6 separate regions of the Homo sapiens genome follow, and regions 1, 2, 3, 5 and 6 are each linked to region 4. The links are contacts of gene promoters, found by promoter capture Hi-C in blood cells and fetal thymus (Javierre and others, 2016). All regions are on one chromosome and are shown on one strand. Each heading gives the region's core, a stretch centred on a gene start or on the middle of the fragment in contact. The rest is flanking DNA. Distances are from core to core; before and after follow the strand shown.

Evidence for each region. The method cuts DNA at HindIII sites, captures the fragments that hold promoters and counts their contacts. A CHiCAGO score of 5 or more calls a contact.
Region 1: a contact is called between a fragment that was not itself captured here and the fragment with the promoter of TRIM68 in region 4, in 1 of 17 cell types (non-activated CD4 T cells). The highest score is 6.3, in non-activated CD4 T cells.
Region 2: a fragment that was not itself captured here is called in contact with the fragment with the promoter of TRIM68 in region 4 in 1 of 17 cell types (total CD8 T cells); the score reaches 7.1 in total CD8 T cells.
Region 3: a fragment that was not itself captured here is called in contact with the fragment with the promoter of TRIM68 in region 4 in 1 of 17 cell types (total CD4 T cells); the score reaches 6.4 in total CD4 T cells.
Region 5: a contact is called between a fragment that was not itself captured here and the fragment with the promoter of TRIM68 in region 4, in 1 of 17 cell types (activated CD4 T cells). The highest score is 5.5, in activated CD4 T cells.
Region 6: a fragment that was not itself captured here is called in contact with the fragment with the promoter of TRIM68 in region 4 in 2 of 17 cell types (naive CD8 T cells and total B cells); the score reaches 6.1 in naive CD8 T cells.

What each region holds. Positions count from the first base shown.
Region 1 is chr11:6,482,207-6,485,451 of GRCh38, reverse strand. TIMM10B (translocase of inner mitochondrial membrane 10B) reads right to left here. Exons shown (of 3, transcript NM_012192.4): 3 at 771-3,245. The coding sequence ends at 3,231. Among named protein-coding and RNA genes, the nearest start is that of TIMM10B, 2.3 kb to the right of the region's middle. The HindIII fragment of the contact is 2,649 bases long and covers 395-3,043 here.
Region 2 is chr11:5,820,821-5,823,655 of GRCh38, reverse strand. OR52N2 (olfactory receptor family 52 subfamily N member 2) reads right to left here. Exons shown (of 2, transcript NM_001005174.3): 2 at 2,173-2,835. The coding sequence ends at 2,355. Among named protein-coding and RNA genes, the nearest start is that of OR52N2, 13 kb to the right of the region's middle. The HindIII fragment of the contact is 649 bases long and covers 1,020-1,668 here.
Region 3 is chr11:5,696,890-5,699,854 of GRCh38, reverse strand. It overlaps TRIM22 (tripartite motif containing 22), which reads right to left. Exons shown (of 8, transcript NM_006074.5): 3 at 2,512-2,607; 4 at 1,310-1,540. Among named protein-coding and RNA genes, the nearest start is that of TRIM22, 8.6 kb to the right of the region's middle. The HindIII fragment of the contact is 2,755 bases long and covers 198-2,952 here.
Region 4 is chr11:4,606,876-4,609,732 of GRCh38, reverse strand. It overlaps TRIM68 (tripartite motif containing 68), which reads left to right and starts at 1,502. Exons shown (of 7, transcript NM_018073.8): 1 at 1,502-1,706. RefSeq lists silencers at 1,338-1,547, 1,858-1,937. The HindIII fragment of the contact is 6,370 bases long and covers 82-2,857 here.
Region 5 is chr11:6,441,978-6,444,896 of GRCh38, reverse strand. No RefSeq gene overlaps it. Among named protein-coding and RNA genes, the nearest start is that of HPX, 2.4 kb to the right of the region's middle. RefSeq lists an enhancer at 1,473-1,542. The HindIII fragment of the contact is 602 bases long and covers 1,332-1,933 here.
Region 6 is chr11:6,237,625-6,240,856 of GRCh38, reverse strand. CNGA4 (cyclic nucleotide gated channel subunit alpha 4) reads right to left here and starts at 1,768. Exons shown (of 6, transcript NM_001037329.4): 1 at 1,589-1,768; 2 at 1,372-1,473; 3 at 1,067-1,173; 4 at 146-791. The coding sequence starts at 1,650. The HindIII fragment of the contact is 2,141 bases long and covers 838-2,978 here.

The sequences.
Region 1 (3,245 bases), core at 470-2,969, 1.9 Mb before region 4:
AAGGAATATGGTCAATAAATAAGATGCAAGTATTTTGAAGATGGAGCAATTTGAGGTGATGATAATGGCCAAGATATGACAAACGGAGTGAGTGGCCAAGACAGAGTGGAAATCATCAGAGATTGGGCCAAATAACTAGGAGACAAAACACCAAATGAATTGTCTATGTAAATGTTAAAATATCAAGGAGTGGACAGGAAGACCAAGGGCTAGCTATTTAAAGTAGCAGGAGAGTAGTAGTAAATGAGAGTGGTAGACAAGTAATCAGAGGGTTGTATGGATGAACAGCCTCAAAAGAATGAGGCTTTGCAAAGGAGTGGGCAGTTCTGAAGCCACAATGGCAGGAACAACAAAGTATCTCCAACGTTTACATTTATGATAACATGATAAAGCTTGTCAACATTTATTCTTTAGTGTTGTGCTTGGAACATCACATTGCTCCGATTATGCCAATGGCTATCACTTTATGGTAAAACCTGAGGAAGACCAGATTATGGAAGGTAAAGTGGTAGGAATAAGGTTTTTCTCCTGAACACTGAACATATTTATAAACAGGAAAGAACCAGGACAAGAGATTGAAATTTTAAGAAAGGGATTAAGAGATGGGTCAGACTGAGGGACATTTGTTTTTTCATGCCTAGAGGCAGGTTAAGTACAGATAGAAGCTCTCAAAGTTCAAAGAGCAAAGGCTTTAGAATCAGACAGATCTATGCTCCTAGCTCTTCTTTAGCAATTACTATTGTGTGACATGGAAGGACGGGAAGCACAGATAATTCACAATGGAAGTTTATTGCAAGGATACACACAAATGTTGATGTGGAAGGGTCCTCCCACCAGCAGCACAGTATCACAGGTCCCATCCTCCTATCTTCTGGAAGTTAAGAAGTTCAAACCTGTTTTACTTGCATTTATATTTCCCAAGGACAGAGTGCCACCCTGTGGGTAAGGTCCTAGTCAGCAACTTTTACCTTCCTAACAAACTTTTCTGTTCAAGAGATAGCAGCTAAAGGGGGCAAAAAACATGATTGGAACCACTTTTCTCAATAAGAAACTTTGTATAGGCCGGCCGTGGTGGCTCACACCTGTAATCCCAGCACTTTTGGAGGCCGAGGCGGGCGGATCACAAGGTCAGGAGTTCAAGACCAGCCTGACCAATACAGTGAAACCCCGTCTCTACTTAAAATACAAAAACAAAATTAGCTGGGCGTGGTGGCGCATGCCTGTAATCCCAGCTACTCGAGAGGCTGAGGCAGGAGAACTGCTTGAACCCGGGTGGCGGAGGTTGCAGTGAGCCTAGATCGCTCCACTGCACTCCAGCCTGGGTGACAGAGCGAGACTCTGTCTCAAAAAAAAAAAAAAGAAGCTGTGTATAAATGTTTGCACGAAATCTGCAGAATGTGCCTTCTGGCACATTCTGGATTCTTGCTTCCTCATCTGTTAAGTGAGGTTAATACCTCTTACTTATAGTTGTTGTAAAGATTAATATAAAGCATGACATCTACCAAAATCAGAACCTACACAAAGTGTGTGCTCAATAAATACTATCTTAAGAGGCAGCCTGCTGTGTAAAATGAACATGGACTTTAAAGTCAGATCTGCACTTTAATACCGGGTCTGCTACTTGAGAATTTCAATTTTCTGCTCTGTAGATAGGATAGAACATCTGCTTTGTAGGTAGTTGTAAGAAGTTTTAAAATTATTACTGTGGAAACCAATGTCTAAGAGCTTCAATTTCTCTAAAAAAGGAAACAGGGTCACCTGATGAGGGTGGGGTATGGGATTAAGGACAGCAGTAGAGGTGTAAAATAACTGCCATGGTAATTAGAGAAGGAAATGGACCAGGAACCCATAAAGGTGTGTGTTGGTGTGACTGCGTGTTGGTGTGAGGACTTGGCTGAGGTTGGAGGCCTTGAATATTTAGTGGCATTCATTACACAACTGTTTTTCTCTAGCAGTTTGAATGAAGGAATGGAAAAGACAGAATAAGTGGAATGATACAAAAAGATGGCCAATGGTGGCAAGAAAATGGGGTGATGGAATGATATGCTATCCAGGCTGCTGAATACAGAAGTAAATTACACAAAGTTGGGGGGCGGGGGAGGCAATAATGAGAAAAGAATGGAGAGGCTGGAATTAGAAATCACAGAATGTACTCAATGGGACCAATGTGGGGCAGATGATAGAAAGCTGGATTTAGGAGTTTCTAGACGAGCAGTGAAACATTAACGTAGCATTAAAGAAGTCCCGAAGATTTAGTTTTATCCCTTTTTATCATAACCATTGCCATCTACTTCTCCCTTCAGTTTCTCTTCCTCGGATTTGGCTGCATTGCAGAATATGGTCCCCAGCTCTCTCCCTTCCTGATTGCCCGTGAAGACAACCACACAGACCTTTGTTCAAAGGTTTTACTGCTCATCCTGAGAAGACTGTACATACTAAGAAAGTAACAACCTGGGGAAATGGCTGAAGTTCCAAAAGACTCCAGACTTCTTACAGGTTTCATCTCTCTTCTGTGGCCACTAACTTCCCAAGGAGGCAGTGCCCAAAAGCCCTGTGGTTTTTTGATCCGTTGTACTTCGATAGCTCCTCCTTTCCCTAGATCCAGCAGAACTCTAGACATGTAAGACATAGTTCACAAAACAACAGTTATGAACCAACAAATACTTGGCTCACGGTTATGAGCCACTGAAGTCAGTCAGACTTAAGGACAACTAGACAGAGCTCCCATTTTCTGTCATCTGGGCAGGAACCAATCTCCTGTTGTATAAAATGACCTTCTGGTACTTTCTGGAATCTTGCTTCCTCATCTGTTAAGTGAGGCTAATACCGCTTACTCATAGTTTTGTTGTGAAGATGAACTAAGAGCATGACATATTACCCGTTTTAAAATTGTACACACAGACCCTGCTTTAACCAGATGCCTGCAAATGCTCAGGTTTTCCTTCTACATATAGAAAACAATTTCTCAGCTGCCAGGGCTGAAGCCAGCAGATATGCACTAAACGACAGAACAACGGATTGTGCCAATAAAGTAGGCAAAGCTTCCTTGCCCAGAATATAAATCAAACTGAGTAAAAACTGGGTATATTGGCTCCAGGAAAAGGAGCAAGGACACCCAGCTTTCAGGCAACCTCGAATTCTCTCTGTTTAGGATTCACCAACCCCAAGGTCCACCGGGTCCTTCAATCTGAGGGTCCATCCAAGGCCTTCCTTCCTGGGGTTGGGTATGGCTAGCTGCCTGATGG
Region 2 (2,835 bases), core at 95-2,594, 1.2 Mb before region 4:
CATGCCTGAAGTTGTGACAAGACTCACAAAGCACTTCCTGATAGGACCTCTGTCTACCTTTCTAGTCACATTTTTTACTCCTCACCCTTTCTCTTTTACCTCTGAATATACAAAAACCTTTGTGAACCTAAACTTGCTATTCTTTGTTCAGCCTTAATATTAGAGCTAGGTTGTTTATTTTTTTCCAAATAATTTCCATCTGCTTTTCCTTGTAGGACACTTATACATATAATTCGAGATTGACCCTATATACTATTTTCCCTGTAAAATCTTTACTCACTACCTCCAATAGATATTGATGATCATGCTCTCAGGATTCATGAGTTTTGTGAACATCTGTGATGTACAATTACCTTGTTATCATTTTATAATGATTCCATTGCATTTTATATCCTCTACTAGACAAGGAATTAGCTAGTGTTTTTGTTTTCATTTACATTTCTCAGCGTGGAGTAGGCACATGGAGTCAGGCACATGATTGTACCCAGAAAAACTTGTTGGCTGACATTGATAGTATGTTTGTGAGAACTCAGTGAAAACTTGCCCATGGCTGGGCATAGTGGCTCACACCTGTAATCCCAGCACCTTGGGGTGCCAAGGCAGGCGAATCTCCTGAGCTCAGGAGTTCAAGACCAGCCTGAGCAACATAGTGAAACCCTGTTTCTACCAAAAATACAAAAAAATTAGCTGGGCATGGTGGGGCATGCCTGTGTCACAACTACTCAGGAGGCTGAGGTGGGAGGATCACTTGAGTCCAGAAGGCAGAGGTTGCAGTGAGCCGAGATGATGCCACTGCAGCCTAACCTGAGTGACAGAGTGAGACCCCATCTCAAAAAAAAAAAAGAAAAGAAAGCTTGTCCACACAAAACTGATACTGCACTGTGCACTGCCTGTACAACTGGAAAGATTTATCCTCAAACTATGATTTTCATAATGAATCAGAGTTGAAACTAATAGCTCATAAAAATAACTAAAATTTATTGAATGGTTAGTATACATCAGAGATTGTGCTACAAGCTTTTTTTGCATCAGAGCATTTAATTAGAAGAAACATCTCTGTGATACATTTTCTTTTTCACATTTGGAAGAAAATATGGAAGTCAAAATTTAGAGAGATTATGTAGCCTGTCCAACTCTAGTGGCTAGAAATTAAAAGACAGAGGACTTAACACTTGAGATGAATTGAATCTGAAACTGATGTTATATTTCCCCCAATTCTTTCCTACAAACTTTTTATTTCCTTCACACTGCATTCATTTTTTCTCTCTCCCCTTTCTTTTATATGTATTTCTTCTCACACATCCCTGGCTACAGTCCAGATTCTGAGTATCTTGAAACCAGGAACCGTATCATCTGCCTCCCTCTCAATAAATCTAAGATATGACTAATAATATTGCTTAAATTAGTGTTTCAAAAAATGAATTGATGAGTGAATGAATAAATAAATTATAATATATACTAATAGCTTAATGGTTTGCCTGCTTGGTCAATAACATGACAATTATATTTTCAGATCCATTTTATAATTTATTTATTTATTTTATTTTTACTTTAGATTCAGAGTGTACATGTGTAGGTTTGTTACAAGGTTATATTACATGATGCTGAAGTTTGGGCTTCTGTAGATTTTTTCACCCAGATAGTGAATGTAGTATCCAACAGAAAGCTTTTCAGTGTTTATTCTTCCCGCTCCTTTCGAAGAACCTGGAGTCTATTGTTCCCATTTAGATCCATTTTAAATGGAGACCCTAAACTGATGACTTGGGAAAAACAGAACCCTTGGACATTCTTCTGTGAATTATAGGGTATTTTAACACATATTTTGCTGACAATTAAAATGGGGAGATTTCATAGAACATATAAATCTAGCTTGTCTTTAAAAAATACTGAAAAATAGTGAACACTGGACCCACGTTTCTCTATGTCTCTACAGCCTCCCCACTTACACGCAACGCAGGGATTGTCAGCAGGTCTGCTGTCCTTATTTTACTACCTTTCTGGTCTCACAAACATGTGAGTCTATAAACGCTTAGGAAAAGCATCAACTCTTTAAGTAATGGGTATATTACTTCTTTATTTTGCATTCTCTGCTTTGGCAGATCCTTGCCCCCACTCCCAACACACACAAATTCAAGAACTTGCAGAGACTTCAGAAAATTGACATATTATGGTGACTTACAAATTTATGTCTTTATTTTGATTTTTTATTTCTATTTTTATTTTAGGTACACGTGCAAGTTTGTTACATGGGTAAATTACATGTCATGATTTTAATACCATTTTATTCACATCTTTTATGAAATTTTGTCTCCATTATTTTCTCACCACCTGAAACAATATGTCTATTCTATGTTTCATTTGTCATAGGTAAAACTAACCTTGTCTCCAAGTAAAAATTTAATTACACCTTCCTGAATCTGCTTGGTCTTGACTCCATAAACAATTGGGTTCATGGTAGGAGGCAGTAGCAGATAAAGGTTGGCCACGATGATGTGTATGTGGTTTGGGATATTGTGTCCTACAAAACGATGAGTGAAAAAAGTGAAAAAAGCAGCAACATAGGTGATCACAATGGAACACATGTGAGATGTGCAGGTGCTGAAGGCTTTGTGACGAGCATCTGCTGATGACAGGCTCATAACAGCCTGCAAAATCATAGTGTAAGATACAGAGATACAGCAGATATCAAACACACCAATCAGGAGAGCAACCATCAGACCATAAATAGCATTGACCTTGAAATTGCCACAGGATACCTTGGCCACAGACATATGGTCACAGTAGGTGTGGGGGATGAAGTTCCCCCGGCAATAGGGCAGGCGCTTGGTGAGGAGA
Region 3 (2,965 bases), core at 326-2,825, 1.1 Mb before region 4:
TACAGAATCTACATGTGGAAATAATAAGCTTTTCAGCAGTGTTAGTTATTAGGAAAAAGCAAATCAAAACTGCATTGAGATACCATTATGTTCCCACTAGAAAGGCTGTAACTAAAAAAAAAAAAAAAAAGGAAATAATCAAGTATTAACAAGGATGTGAAGAACCTAGAAACTTTTTATATTGCTTTTTATAAGCTTTTGTATTGTTACTCATATAAAGTGAGTAACAACTTTGGAAAATAGTACGACAACTTAAAACTTATACATAAACAACATACAACACTCTTTTTTTTTTTTTTTTTTTTTTTTTTTTTTTTTTTTTTTGAGACGGAGTCTCGCTCTGTCGCCCAGGCCGGACTGCGGACTGCAGTGGCGCAATCTCGGTTCATTGCAAGCTCCGCTTCCCGGGTTCACGCCATTCTCCTGCCTCAGCCTCCCGAGTAGCTGGGACTACAGGCGCCCGCCACCGCGCCCGGCTAATTTTTTGTATTTTTAGTAGAGACGGGGTTTCACCTTGTTAGCCAGGATGGTCTCGATCTCCTGACCTCATGATCCACCCGCCTCGGCCTCCCAAAGTGCTGGGATTACAGGCGTGAGCCACCGCGCCCGGCCACAACATACAACACTCTTAAAATCTACTCAAGATAAATGAAAACATGTTTGTATGAGGACATGTAAGTGAATGTTTACTGTAGCATTATTCATAATAGTCCCTAACTGGAAAATATTCATATAGCCACCAACTGGTGAATACATAAACATAATATGATATATTCAGATAATGGAATAGTATTAGCAATAAGAGCAAAATGCTGATACATACTGCAATATAAATAAACCTCAAAATATTATGCTAAGTTAAAGATGCCAGATGCAAAAGACTACATGTTTTATAATTCAATTCATATTGAAAGGTCCAGAGAAGCCAATTCTATACAGACAGAAAACAGATAGGCTGCCAGGAGGTGGAGGTAGAAACAGATATTGACTGCAAACAGGCATGAGAAATGTTTTTGATGTGATGGGAAAGTTCTAAAACTGATATGCTCATGGTACAAAGAATCCTCTCCAAGCTCAAATTTTTACACTGCTCTCATAAGTGAATAATAATGGGAATTTCCCTTCCCATTCATACACTTAATGATCTCTGTGACCCCTGAAATGATGGGCATAAAAGGGGCATGCCGGGCCAAAGGAACCATTTCATGTCACCACACAGAAGAAAGCCTAGAGACTGGGAAGGGAAGGAAAATCGGCCTCTGTGTTTTTCCCCTAATCTCTTACGTAGGTGCTCCATCCCAAGTCTTACCTGCAGCATCTCTACTGACGATCCCCTCAACCTCCGCTGGAGATCTGAGATGAGCGTGCTGGCATCCTGCCTCTGCTGGACCAGCTGGTCTGTAGCTGCTGCCAGGTTATCCAGCACATTCACCTCACCTTCCTCCAGCTTTTGCAGCTCTCTCTGCTCCTCATTGTCCAAGATGACTCTCATTTCATTGAACCCTTTCAGAATCTTCTGTCTCTCGATCTGGATATAATTCTTGGGAATGAAAAGAGAAAGAGGCAGTCAGTCTGGCTGGTTGAAGGCCTGCTTTGTATGAGCCTGGGAGACAGGATAAGAACAGTTTTCCTCAGGGAGTTCTCAAAAGGAATAGGAGGCAAAAGCCAATACACAATTTCTGGTGAAGCCATGTTTTTCTACTTTTTAACCTGAGCTCCTCCCAAAGCAATACACTCAAGTCAGTTTTATTGAGGCCTAATCTGAGACAAAATGTGATGCCTGGGTGAGGCTTGGATTGTAGACACCTGTCCTGAACAACTTTGCCTTTCTGTATCTTAAATCCCTCTACCTGGCCTGGCACAGTGGCTCATGCCTGTAATCCCAGCACTTTGGGAGGCTGAGATGGGTGGATCACAAGGTCAGGAGATTGAGACCATCCTGGCTAACATGATGAAACCCCATCTCTACTAAAAATACAAAAAATTAGCTGGGCATGGTGGCACATGCCTGTAGTCCCAGCTACTCGGGAGGCTGAGGCAGGAGAATCGTTTGAACCAGGGAGGCAGAGGTTGCAGTGAGCCAAGATCGCGCCACTACACTCCAGCCTGTATGACAGAGAGAGACTCTGTCTCAAAAAACAAACAAACAAACAAAAAAATCCCCCTACTGAAACCCCCTAAACAGGGAATCCTGGGTCTTTCTCCAGGGTGTTTACTGGAAGGATTGGAGCCTCAAACCTGATGACACAAATGGAACACAGGATTCACAGGAAGCGTTTTCACAGATATTTCCCTCCATGCCTTCACTTCCAAATATAGTGTTGATTTATGATATGTCTACTCTCCAGCCCCTAAACTCCAACAGGGAAGGAGTTAAATTGAGACCTAATCAAATGACTTCTATGCTTGTTAATTCTAGCACAGCAAAGAGGAAGGGGTCTCCTTGTGATAGAGCCCAGGGTCCTGCCCAGATTCCTGTCTAATTATCCCTTAGGAGGTGTCTCCTCCTGCCTTCCAGGCGGTTCTCTCTTGTCTGATGTCATCTTCCAGCTTCTCAGCCTCTTGATCCTCCTTTATCAGCCTCTGCAGGGCTACCTGCAGCTTTTCCTGTAAGAAATAAATTATACCAGAGTAAAGTTATGAGCTTTCTCAGCACCTGAATAGAGGACAGCAAGGAAGAAATTGGATGGCTCTCAGAAGAAACTAGTTTACAGAAACAGTGAGGCTGGTGATTAGAACCTATGGCATGGGGGAAAATCTGAGGAGATGAATGTATTCTTTATTCCTGGATGATGGAAGTCACCATCCTCTTATCAAGAGTAGCCTGATTCTTTTCCTAGAGAAAAAGCAGACCCTGCAGTAAGGAAAGACGTCCTTTCATTGCCACTCTTCCCACATCTAACCAGACGTGTTCCCAAAAATACTGTTCTTCTTGGAGGGGCAATGAAAGCTTATCTTACAAAGC
Region 4 (2,857 bases), core at 253-2,752:
CCTCACCTGGACACACCTGTCTCACAGCAAACAAATAAAGAAACAAACAAAACATTCTGAAGACATCTGTAAAGGAAAGCTTCTATGCCTTGGAAGTAAACTGGTCTGTCTTCAAAAGCCCTCTCTCCAGCCTTCCCCACATGAACGCAAGCCCCCACCCCCAGCTACCCTGATTGCCAGGGTTCTTGACAGTCCGTCATAGTTACAAATTGCACCTTACACATGAAAATGATCTCCCCATTAACTGTTTTAACTTCACAGAGATTCCAGAGCAGTACAACCAACTTGACCTTCAGCTCCTTAAAGGCAGAGACTATATGTCCCATAGTTGTAATCCCAGCACCCAGTAAAATATTGTCAAGAAAATTGATGTTAAATAAATGTTTAAAATGGCTTATTTCAATTAATCCATTCATTATTCTATTAGAGCAGCCATTTCTCCAAAACTGGGTGAGACAGAGGGTACAGCTCAGACCTAAGATACTTTTGTTTTTTCTCATAGACCTATTTGTTGCAGGAAATTTCTGGGCCTCACCCTTCAGAATTTTAACCATGGCCGGGGCTCAGACACTGGCATGAGCATTCTGGAGTATCTGTCCTAACAATTAAGATATTATATAATTTGGAACCGAGCTTCAATTGGAAGATTTCCTGGTTATTTTCTATGCGGATAGGAGGTGCCTTCACTTGCTTATTAAAACCTAAGTGTCAAGAGAAGGACAAGGCCCTGGGAGTACAAAGAAAAACCCATATCACTGTCTTAAGTAACAGTTTTTGTGTGTGCGTGCATGTGTCTATGTGTTTGGGTGAGGAAGGGATACCAGTTGTTTAATTTTTTTTTCCTTTTTTAATGACAATTTTTGACCAGGGTTTCCATTTCTCCATCAACTCCCGGTCTCTGTTGTCTGTTTTTCACTCTAAAAGTGGATTGTGGCAATAGTGATGACAAGCTGGTTGCTGAAGTAAAAACGAAAAAAGAGAGGGTTTTGTTTTGTTTTGTTTTGTTTTGTTTAAGAACCCAGTATTTAAAGCCTGGAACCATGAGAGGTCGCGAATCTTGCCAGGAACAGCAGAGTCCACACCATATGTGCGCCCAACCCTTTGCTAAGATGGGTCACAGAACCAGACTTGGCCAATCTCAGGCTTCTGAGTTTAACAAGTCAAACTGGCAAATGAATAGCCACCTGAGCCTCTCTTAATGCAGTGCCTGAGCGGCATCATTTGGGAGCCTCAATCCTTTGACCTATCCTAGAACTAACTCCTAGAACCCTCTACAGTTTAAGGGAATCTGAGTCGGTGAAGGGACCAGAAAAACCCAGGAAGTAGAGAAAAAACATTGACATGCCTAGAAGCGCCGAAACCCCCGTCTCATCACCAATTGGCTAGGGGTACCCTGGTCCCTGCCTGTGATTGGCTGCCCCCACAAACACACCGCCCCCTGGGCGAAGCCAACCTGGGCCCAGCCGGCCGCTCATTGGCTGCCGTCCCGCGAGCGGGGCCTAGAGCCGGGTGTAGTATTCTGGGAGCTGCGGGCTACTGGGCCTGCGCTGCCGGGCTTTGGGTTCTGGGCCTCTGCCGCTCTCTGGCCCTAAGTGCTGAGCTGCCGGGAACGGCAGCTTCTGACGCTGGGCCATTGGACGCTGCGGAACCAGGCTTCTTCACTTTGAGTTTCCGCCGCGAAGCGCCAGTCCGGGCCGAGGAGGGAGGTGGGTAGATAACTCTGCCTTTTCTGAAGTCAGATCCCGCACGCTCACTTTACCCCCACCCGCCCGCTGTCCTGGGGACCTGCCCAACGCCCTGTGGCCAGGCCAGGAGCTGCTCCCTGACTCCGGAGGTTACCGCCCGCCCCTCGACTCCCTTCCCGCTGGGGTCCTAACTGGAAGTCTTCCAGGCCCCGCCCCCTTCTCAAATGCCCTTCTCAGACTCTCGCTGTACCCTACGGAAGGCACAGTCAAAGCAACCGAACGTTTAATTATTTGAATTTTCTCAAAGTAATTCATGTATAATAAAAAGTCAAACATTAAAGCAGGTCTTATTTTGAAGAGCAGTAACTACCCATCCCCAGATCTTTGCAGAGGCTGCCACTTTTAGTTTGTCCCCATTTAGATGTTTTTAGCACCCTAAATCAAAATAATATGCGTTCCACTGTATTTCTGGATTTATCATTTTGATATTTCTTTGCCTTACTTTCTTACTGCCACAATCTTGTCAATTTTCCATCGCTATTTTAGGTCTTCCATTTGTAGCTTTAAATAATGGGTATCAACTTCCATTTATTGTTTTATTGACTTTAGATGGTGTCTCTTAATGTCTCTACTGACTTAGCTAAGGATATTAACACATCCTCCACTTTCAATCTACTATCGGTTGGAACTCAACATTTACATTTAGTTTTCACGTATTCAACAAGTATTTGAGGCACTGTTCTTGGCACTGGGGAAATAGAAATGGACAAAACAGACAATGACCCTATCCACATGAAAAAGTTCTAGTATGGGAAGTAAGACAATAGACGAATACATGGCAAATGACGTCAAAGGCAGGATCATGTAGAAGTCATTTTCAGCTGGGAGAATAGCAGGCACCCAAGTCAGGTAGATTGAATGGACGAGGGGTTTGCGGGAGTGTGTGGAAGTTTATTCCTTTGCCTAGCTGGGCACAGGTGCTGTTTCAAGGAGAGATCTTGTTAACCGGGAGCCAGGATAGATTATTTAGTAAGTTAGTGATTTACCAAAATGAGGTTTTAGGATACTGGATCCCACAGTTTGGTAGTGATAGTGGGAGGAAGAAAAGCAGGAGGCAGGGAGTCTAGTGAGAAGGCATGCCCTGCCAATGGCATATCAGAGTCCTGCAAGAT
Region 5 (2,919 bases), core at 383-2,882, 1.8 Mb before region 4:
CAAATCAGTGCTTTTTCCCCCTAGAGAGCAGTTGTTAAATATTTGCCAGCGAACCCCTTGATAAGAACACACTATCCTTGTAGGAACACACCCCTAGGAGTCAGGCACCCAGGGTTTAAATCATGGCTCTGCCACTTGCTAGCAATGTGATTTGGCTAAGATACCTAATATTGGCTTCCTCATTCATAAAACGGGACTCATAGTGCTACCTTTGTCTGTTTGTGCTGCTATAACAAAATGCCCATGACTGATGATTTATAATGAACAAAAATGTATTTCTCACAGTTCTGGAGGCTGGGAAGTCCAAGATTAAGGTGCCCAGCAGGTTTGGTGTGTGGTGAGGTCCTGGTCTCTGCTTCTATGATGGCATTTTGAACGCTGCATCCTCTAGAGGAGACAAATGCTGTTCATCACGTGGCAGAAAAGCAGAGGAGAGAGAATCCACTTCTGAAAGCCCTTTTTATAGCAGCATTAATCCATTCATCGGGCAGAGCTCTCATGACCTAAACACCTCTCATGAGGCCGCACCTCCAAACACTGGCACATTGGGAATTAAGCTTCCAACACATCAATTCGGAGGGGACAGAAACATTCAAACCATAGCAAGTGCTATATACATGCTATATATATATATATATAGCACTAAGGCCCATTATAGACTGAGCAAGAGGAGGGGTCAGCTGGGATCAGCAAGCTCTTTGGCTGCCTGGAGCTTTATCCCTAAGCCTCCTACCCCTGAGGAAAGGAGACATTCAGTTCCTGCTCCCTGGAGTATACAGCCACAGACTTCAGGCCCAGCACACCTAGCACTCAGTGGGCCCAGGAGAAATGGCTAAGGTCAGAGAACTCATATCAACAGCAGAGCAGGCTGGACATAGACATAGCCATTCCAAGGGACAGTGGGTCAGTGTCCAGCTTACATCTGGCTCTTGGCAATGCAGGAGGAAGCTCTGTCATTTGCAGACATTTGCAGGTTCGTGTTCAGACCCCTTCTGGGAGAAGTAAAAAAGCTGCTGGTTAGGAGGATAGAGAAGACTACCCAGGAAAAGAGATGGTTGAATTTCTCTGGGCTCGAGTTCCCAGAGAAGCAAGAGATTGAGGTCCCCAAATCCACTCTGGGCAGCAAGGTTTGCAGAAGAAGGGAAAGAAGCATAGAAGGGTGTGTACCACTAAGGATGCACAGCCAGGGCTGAGAGGAGTGTGGGACAAAGGCTGTGGAGAGCTAGTTTCAGAGAGGAAAAACTCCTGGGCTCTGGCCTCTAGTTGAAGGGCGGGAGTGCACTGATTCCTGCGGCCTGCAGGGGGTGCTCAGGCCCAAGTACCGACAAGCTTCTTTCCTCAGCCCCAGTAGGAAGCCTGGGAAGGACCCAGGACCCACAGAAGGGGCCTCCTGTAGTGAGGGGAAGAGAAGCAAGGCTGCTGAGTCTTGACTACCCTGAGAAGTCTTGGCTTGTACCCTGTGACCAACACCAGGGTGGCCAACATATCCACAGCCCTGGGTTCCCAAATGTGTACAATGTTCTACTTTCAACTCCTGCCCAAAACTTGAACTTCAACCTGGACTGCCTGCAGTGCAGATGACTCTGCTGGCCTAGTCCCTGGGTGGAGCAGGAGGATCCAGTAATGGTTTCTAAGCCATTCTCGGGTACACAGGTGAATTAGGAAGCAACAGGGAAAAGGGACCATAAAGTAGTATTCTGGGATAGATGGATCCGGGGTGCTGTGAGGGGGACCACACCAGGTGTGTGGGGAAGGGGTCAAGCTGAAAAATGATCATCCAGTATATGTGCTGTATGCCCTCAGACAGCCCTGTTAGGCCAGAAGGAGACTGCACCCTTGGACTGGCAAGTCAGTGCAAGGCCCTGCTAATAGGACTATTGAAGACTCTCACTATGGGTTTTCTGTGGGGTGTTTGTTTCTTGGGGTGAAAGCTTCCCTCTCCCCAGGCAGGCCCAGCAAAATCTGTAGGATTCAGACAGGGTTCTGACAGCTGAAGACAAGTTGTTGAGGAAATTCCTGATGGAGGATCATGGGGTGCTCAGGAGGGAGAATATAAGGTTTCAGAGGCTGAGAGGGAAAGAAAAGGTGAGGGGGAGTCTTAGAATAGTGGCTCCCATTGCCCAACACCCAGAAAGAAGACATGCCCTGCAATGGGGAGAAGGTGAGTATGAGACATTGGCTGTAGCAGCGATGGCATTGCCCAGGCTGCCAAGGACTCAGAGAGTCCAGCCTTGCCCACTGACCTATGAGGAGGGAATGATGTTCACAGCACATTTTCATTCGTAAGTCAGGAGAGGACATTGAGCCTGATGGCAGAGGCCTGGTGACATGTTGTTCCAGAGGTTCCGGAATGTGTGTTTTCCTGTTGGAAGGAAACTTCGCAGAGTAGAAAAGGGATCTGAGACTTTTGGTAAGATTATATATGGGACTGTCAGGGGTCTGGAGCCATCTGTGAGGGATCAGGGCCCTTTCAGCCTTGGCTAGGGAGCAGGGGTCCTGGAACTTCATCCTGGCCCATAGCTGAGTCTGCCCATAATTCTTTTCTGACTCACTAGGCAAATCTCACACAGAAATGGGGCAGCTTTGGGAGTGGGCCCAGGAAGTACTGAGGATAGCAGGTGAGATCCCAGGAAGAGATGGATGTGGGGCCGAGACACTGGAGAGAGAAACAGGACTGTCAGATAAAGGGCGTCTGTGACTCCTAGATCTCATTATGCCTACTACCATAACCTACCCCCAATTCCTAATATTCTCCTACCCTAGAGGGGGGGAAATTGTCAGAAATTTGGCTGCAACACTAGCAACACTACTCAGTACTTGAAATGCATTTTTGCATTTTTTTCATTCAACAAATATTTCTGGAACAACTCTTATATGCCAGGCACTATTTTAGGAGTCAGGGATATATAATGGTAAACA
Region 6 (3,232 bases), core at 659-3,158, 1.6 Mb before region 4:
CCAAGCCCCAGCCAGCAAACCCACGGCTGAATGCTACATTTTGACAGCCTTGCCTGGCTCACCAGGCACTAAGGACCCAGTTACCTCCCTCAGGTTCCATCACCTACACTGGTCCCTGTCCTGGTCTGGAACCCCGCCTTCTCACCAGTCAATAACTCGCCGCTCCAGCTTGCGGTTGACGTGCTGCAGCTTCATGTACTTCTTCACCAGTGCATGATCTGGGTAGAAAGCCGCATCTGCAGTGTTCATGTTGTAGATGACAGAGCTCATGCTACCCATGATGGTGGCGAAACCCATGACGGCCAGCAGGAAGTCGCCCACCATGAAGAGGTACTCTTCTTCCCTGGCTGGCGGCGGTGTATCGCCCACTGTAGTCAGTATCAGCGTGGAGAAGTAAAAGCTATAGAGGTACTGGCGCCGCAGGCGCTCAAAGCCAGGCTGCGCGGGGTCCGGGTACACCCATGCGTCACGCCCGAAGCCCAGGTACCGGGATAGGGCAAAGTATAGGCAGCTGTTCCAATGGATGACGACAAAAATGTAAAGCATCAGCTTGGCAATGCGAAAGGCATTTGGGTAAGCTGTGCGGGTCTCTGTGCGGTCGAAGGCCTCGAAGAGGCGGGGCGCGCGGAGAAAGCGGTTCAGCCTCAGGGTGGGTGTGTGCGGGCCCAGCCGCACGTAGACCACATCTGTGGGCATCAGGGAAGCCAGGTCCAAGAAGAAACTCCAGGTGCGAACGTAGCGACTCGAGATCCTACCCTTGTCCACCACCAGGATGCCCTGTTCCAAGAATCCTGGGGAGAGGGAGCCGGTAGGAAGCGGACCTGCTGTAGTCAAGCTTGGGCTGAGCATGAGCTGCCCAGGGCAGGCCAGGGAGACTGTCTGAAGGACAGAGTGGAGCCAGGCATAACTCTGCTCCCGGCTTTCCGGGGTGAGCACTGGGATGCTGTCAGGCATAGAGGCACGCGAAGGTGCTACCACGGTGGGGGTGCCTTTCTTGTTACTTCTTAAGTGGCTATCTTTAGGAAGGGAATGTGGGACAAAGGGTCATTCCTAGAAGCCCACTGACCTGTGTGGAAGCGCACCACCATGTCTAGTAGGTATAGCAGGTCACTCGTGTAGTCCAGCACCAACCAGGCCACCAGATAACCGTGCTGCAAGTCGGGGAAGCAGGCTCTGCAGGGCAGGGTTAAGCATGATTGAATTAAGGGCACCCTCTGTGTGCGAGGCGTCTCCCCAGGGCCCTTAACCCTCTGCCTCAGGCCCTCCCATGGGAATTGCTCCTCCTGCCCCACCAAGGGTCTGCCCTTCTCCTTGACCTCTCTTTAGTCCTCTTTTTGGCTTCCAGCCCCTCCCTTAGCACCGCTGCCATACCTGCACACGAGGATGATGAGGTTATACATGACTGGGAAGACCATTGTGTTCAGCCACCAGTAGTAGTAATCCCCAGATGGGTCCAGGACAGGCAGCAACTTCCTGTAAGAAAGAAAGTCTTGCTTCATTTATTCACCAGGCATTCAAAGCTGTAGTTGTGACTGGGGCACCAAGAGGAATGAGGAGAGATCCCACACAAGGGACCAGGACTTCTCACCTGGCCTTGGATGGGGCTGGGGGACTGGACTCTGTTGTCTTCACTTTGGTGTCCTGGCTCATGGTTCTGTGGTCTGGTGCTGGGGTGTGAGATGTCCACACCCTCTCTGCCTGTAGGGGACTTCTGGAGTTGGGCACTAGTGCCTGACTGCCTGAAGGAGGCTGCTGTTGGGCTTCTGCTGTGACTTCTTTGTCTTTGGGGCTCTTAGCAACACAACCAGAGCTAGCGCTACTGAAGGGGTGGAGACAGTCTAGCTCTAGCACTCTGCCCTGTCTCCCAGGGCCTGGGCTTACACCTGCCCAGCTAAACACCTCTAATGAGATCCCTGGAGAAGGTGGGGGTGCATGCCTCAGAGGGAAGCCTGAGTCTTGTCTCTGTTTTCCTCCTCCCCTCTTTCCACAGCAACTGAGCTACATAGGTGTCCTCTGGGTCAGAAGACCTCAGTTTTAGTGTAGGATCAAACACTCTGTTTTATCTTTGCAAATTCTATTTGGGCCTCACTATTTATTTATTTAACAACTATTACTGAATGGCTTATCTATGTCAGGTGCTAAACTATTCTCCAGGGACAAAGAGATGCCTCTCACATGAGAAGTGAGCTCTATTTTTGTAACCTACTTCCTACCCTTATCTACCTCCACATACGCCTTCCCCCATCACACCATTCTCATAGGTAGTGTGATAGGGGCCATCCTATGGTGCTTTTGTCCTCATATCCTTCTTGTGACTTCTAGTGCCTGATCCTACCAACCATTCCATGTGTTTTATGGTCCCCAATCTTTCAACTTTTCTCTTTTTGTGAACCTGCTTCAATATCTCCTATATCAAAACAAACAAAAACCCTACAATTTCTCCCTCAACCTGATGTTCCTTTCACTGCTATCATCTTTCTCAGTCAACAAATCAAAATCAGAACACCCATAGGCAGGTGTTCTGTGTGCCAGGCCAATATTGTGCTAAATACTAGGAATTGGAGATGAATAAGACACGCTCCCCCTTCTCCAGAAGCTCACAGTCTGCTAGGTGAAATAGTCAGGCCAGCAGGTAATTACACATGAGGTAACTAAACAGCAGCAGTCATTGCCAGGCTGCTGATGAGTACTCTGTTAGCTGGATACACGGAAGGCTATTATAGTACACATGAAGTGGCCCTACAGAGCCTGGGTTCTGCAGGATGAATAGGAGTTGGGTACAGAGATGGGAGGGTGAAGAGCACTAGAGGCAGAATGCACAGAGTGGGCAAAGGCATAGAGATATCAAAAAGCGTGGGTGACTGGGCAAATATCAATTGGCTTATTTTAGAGGGCCTAGCGGGTAGTGGTGAGAGATGAGGTTGAATGATAGACAGAGGCCAGCTCAGGAGGAGTTCTGTCAGCCATGTTATAAAGCTTGGATTTTACCCAACGGCAATAGAGAACCTGTGAAGAGTTTTTCACAGTTCAGTGATAAAATCAGGTTTGTGTTTTTGGAGTGTGTTTTAGAAGAAAAACCTGTGGTCCCTAATTAAATTTTGAAAAACTCTCTTTTCCCATGGCTTCTTAATTTCTTTTTGCAAAGTATTACGCTTGTTAAAATAAAAAGACAACATTCAAAGTAATGCAACAAAATGAATAAAATCCTTTGTAATGCCATAATGTCTTGGTT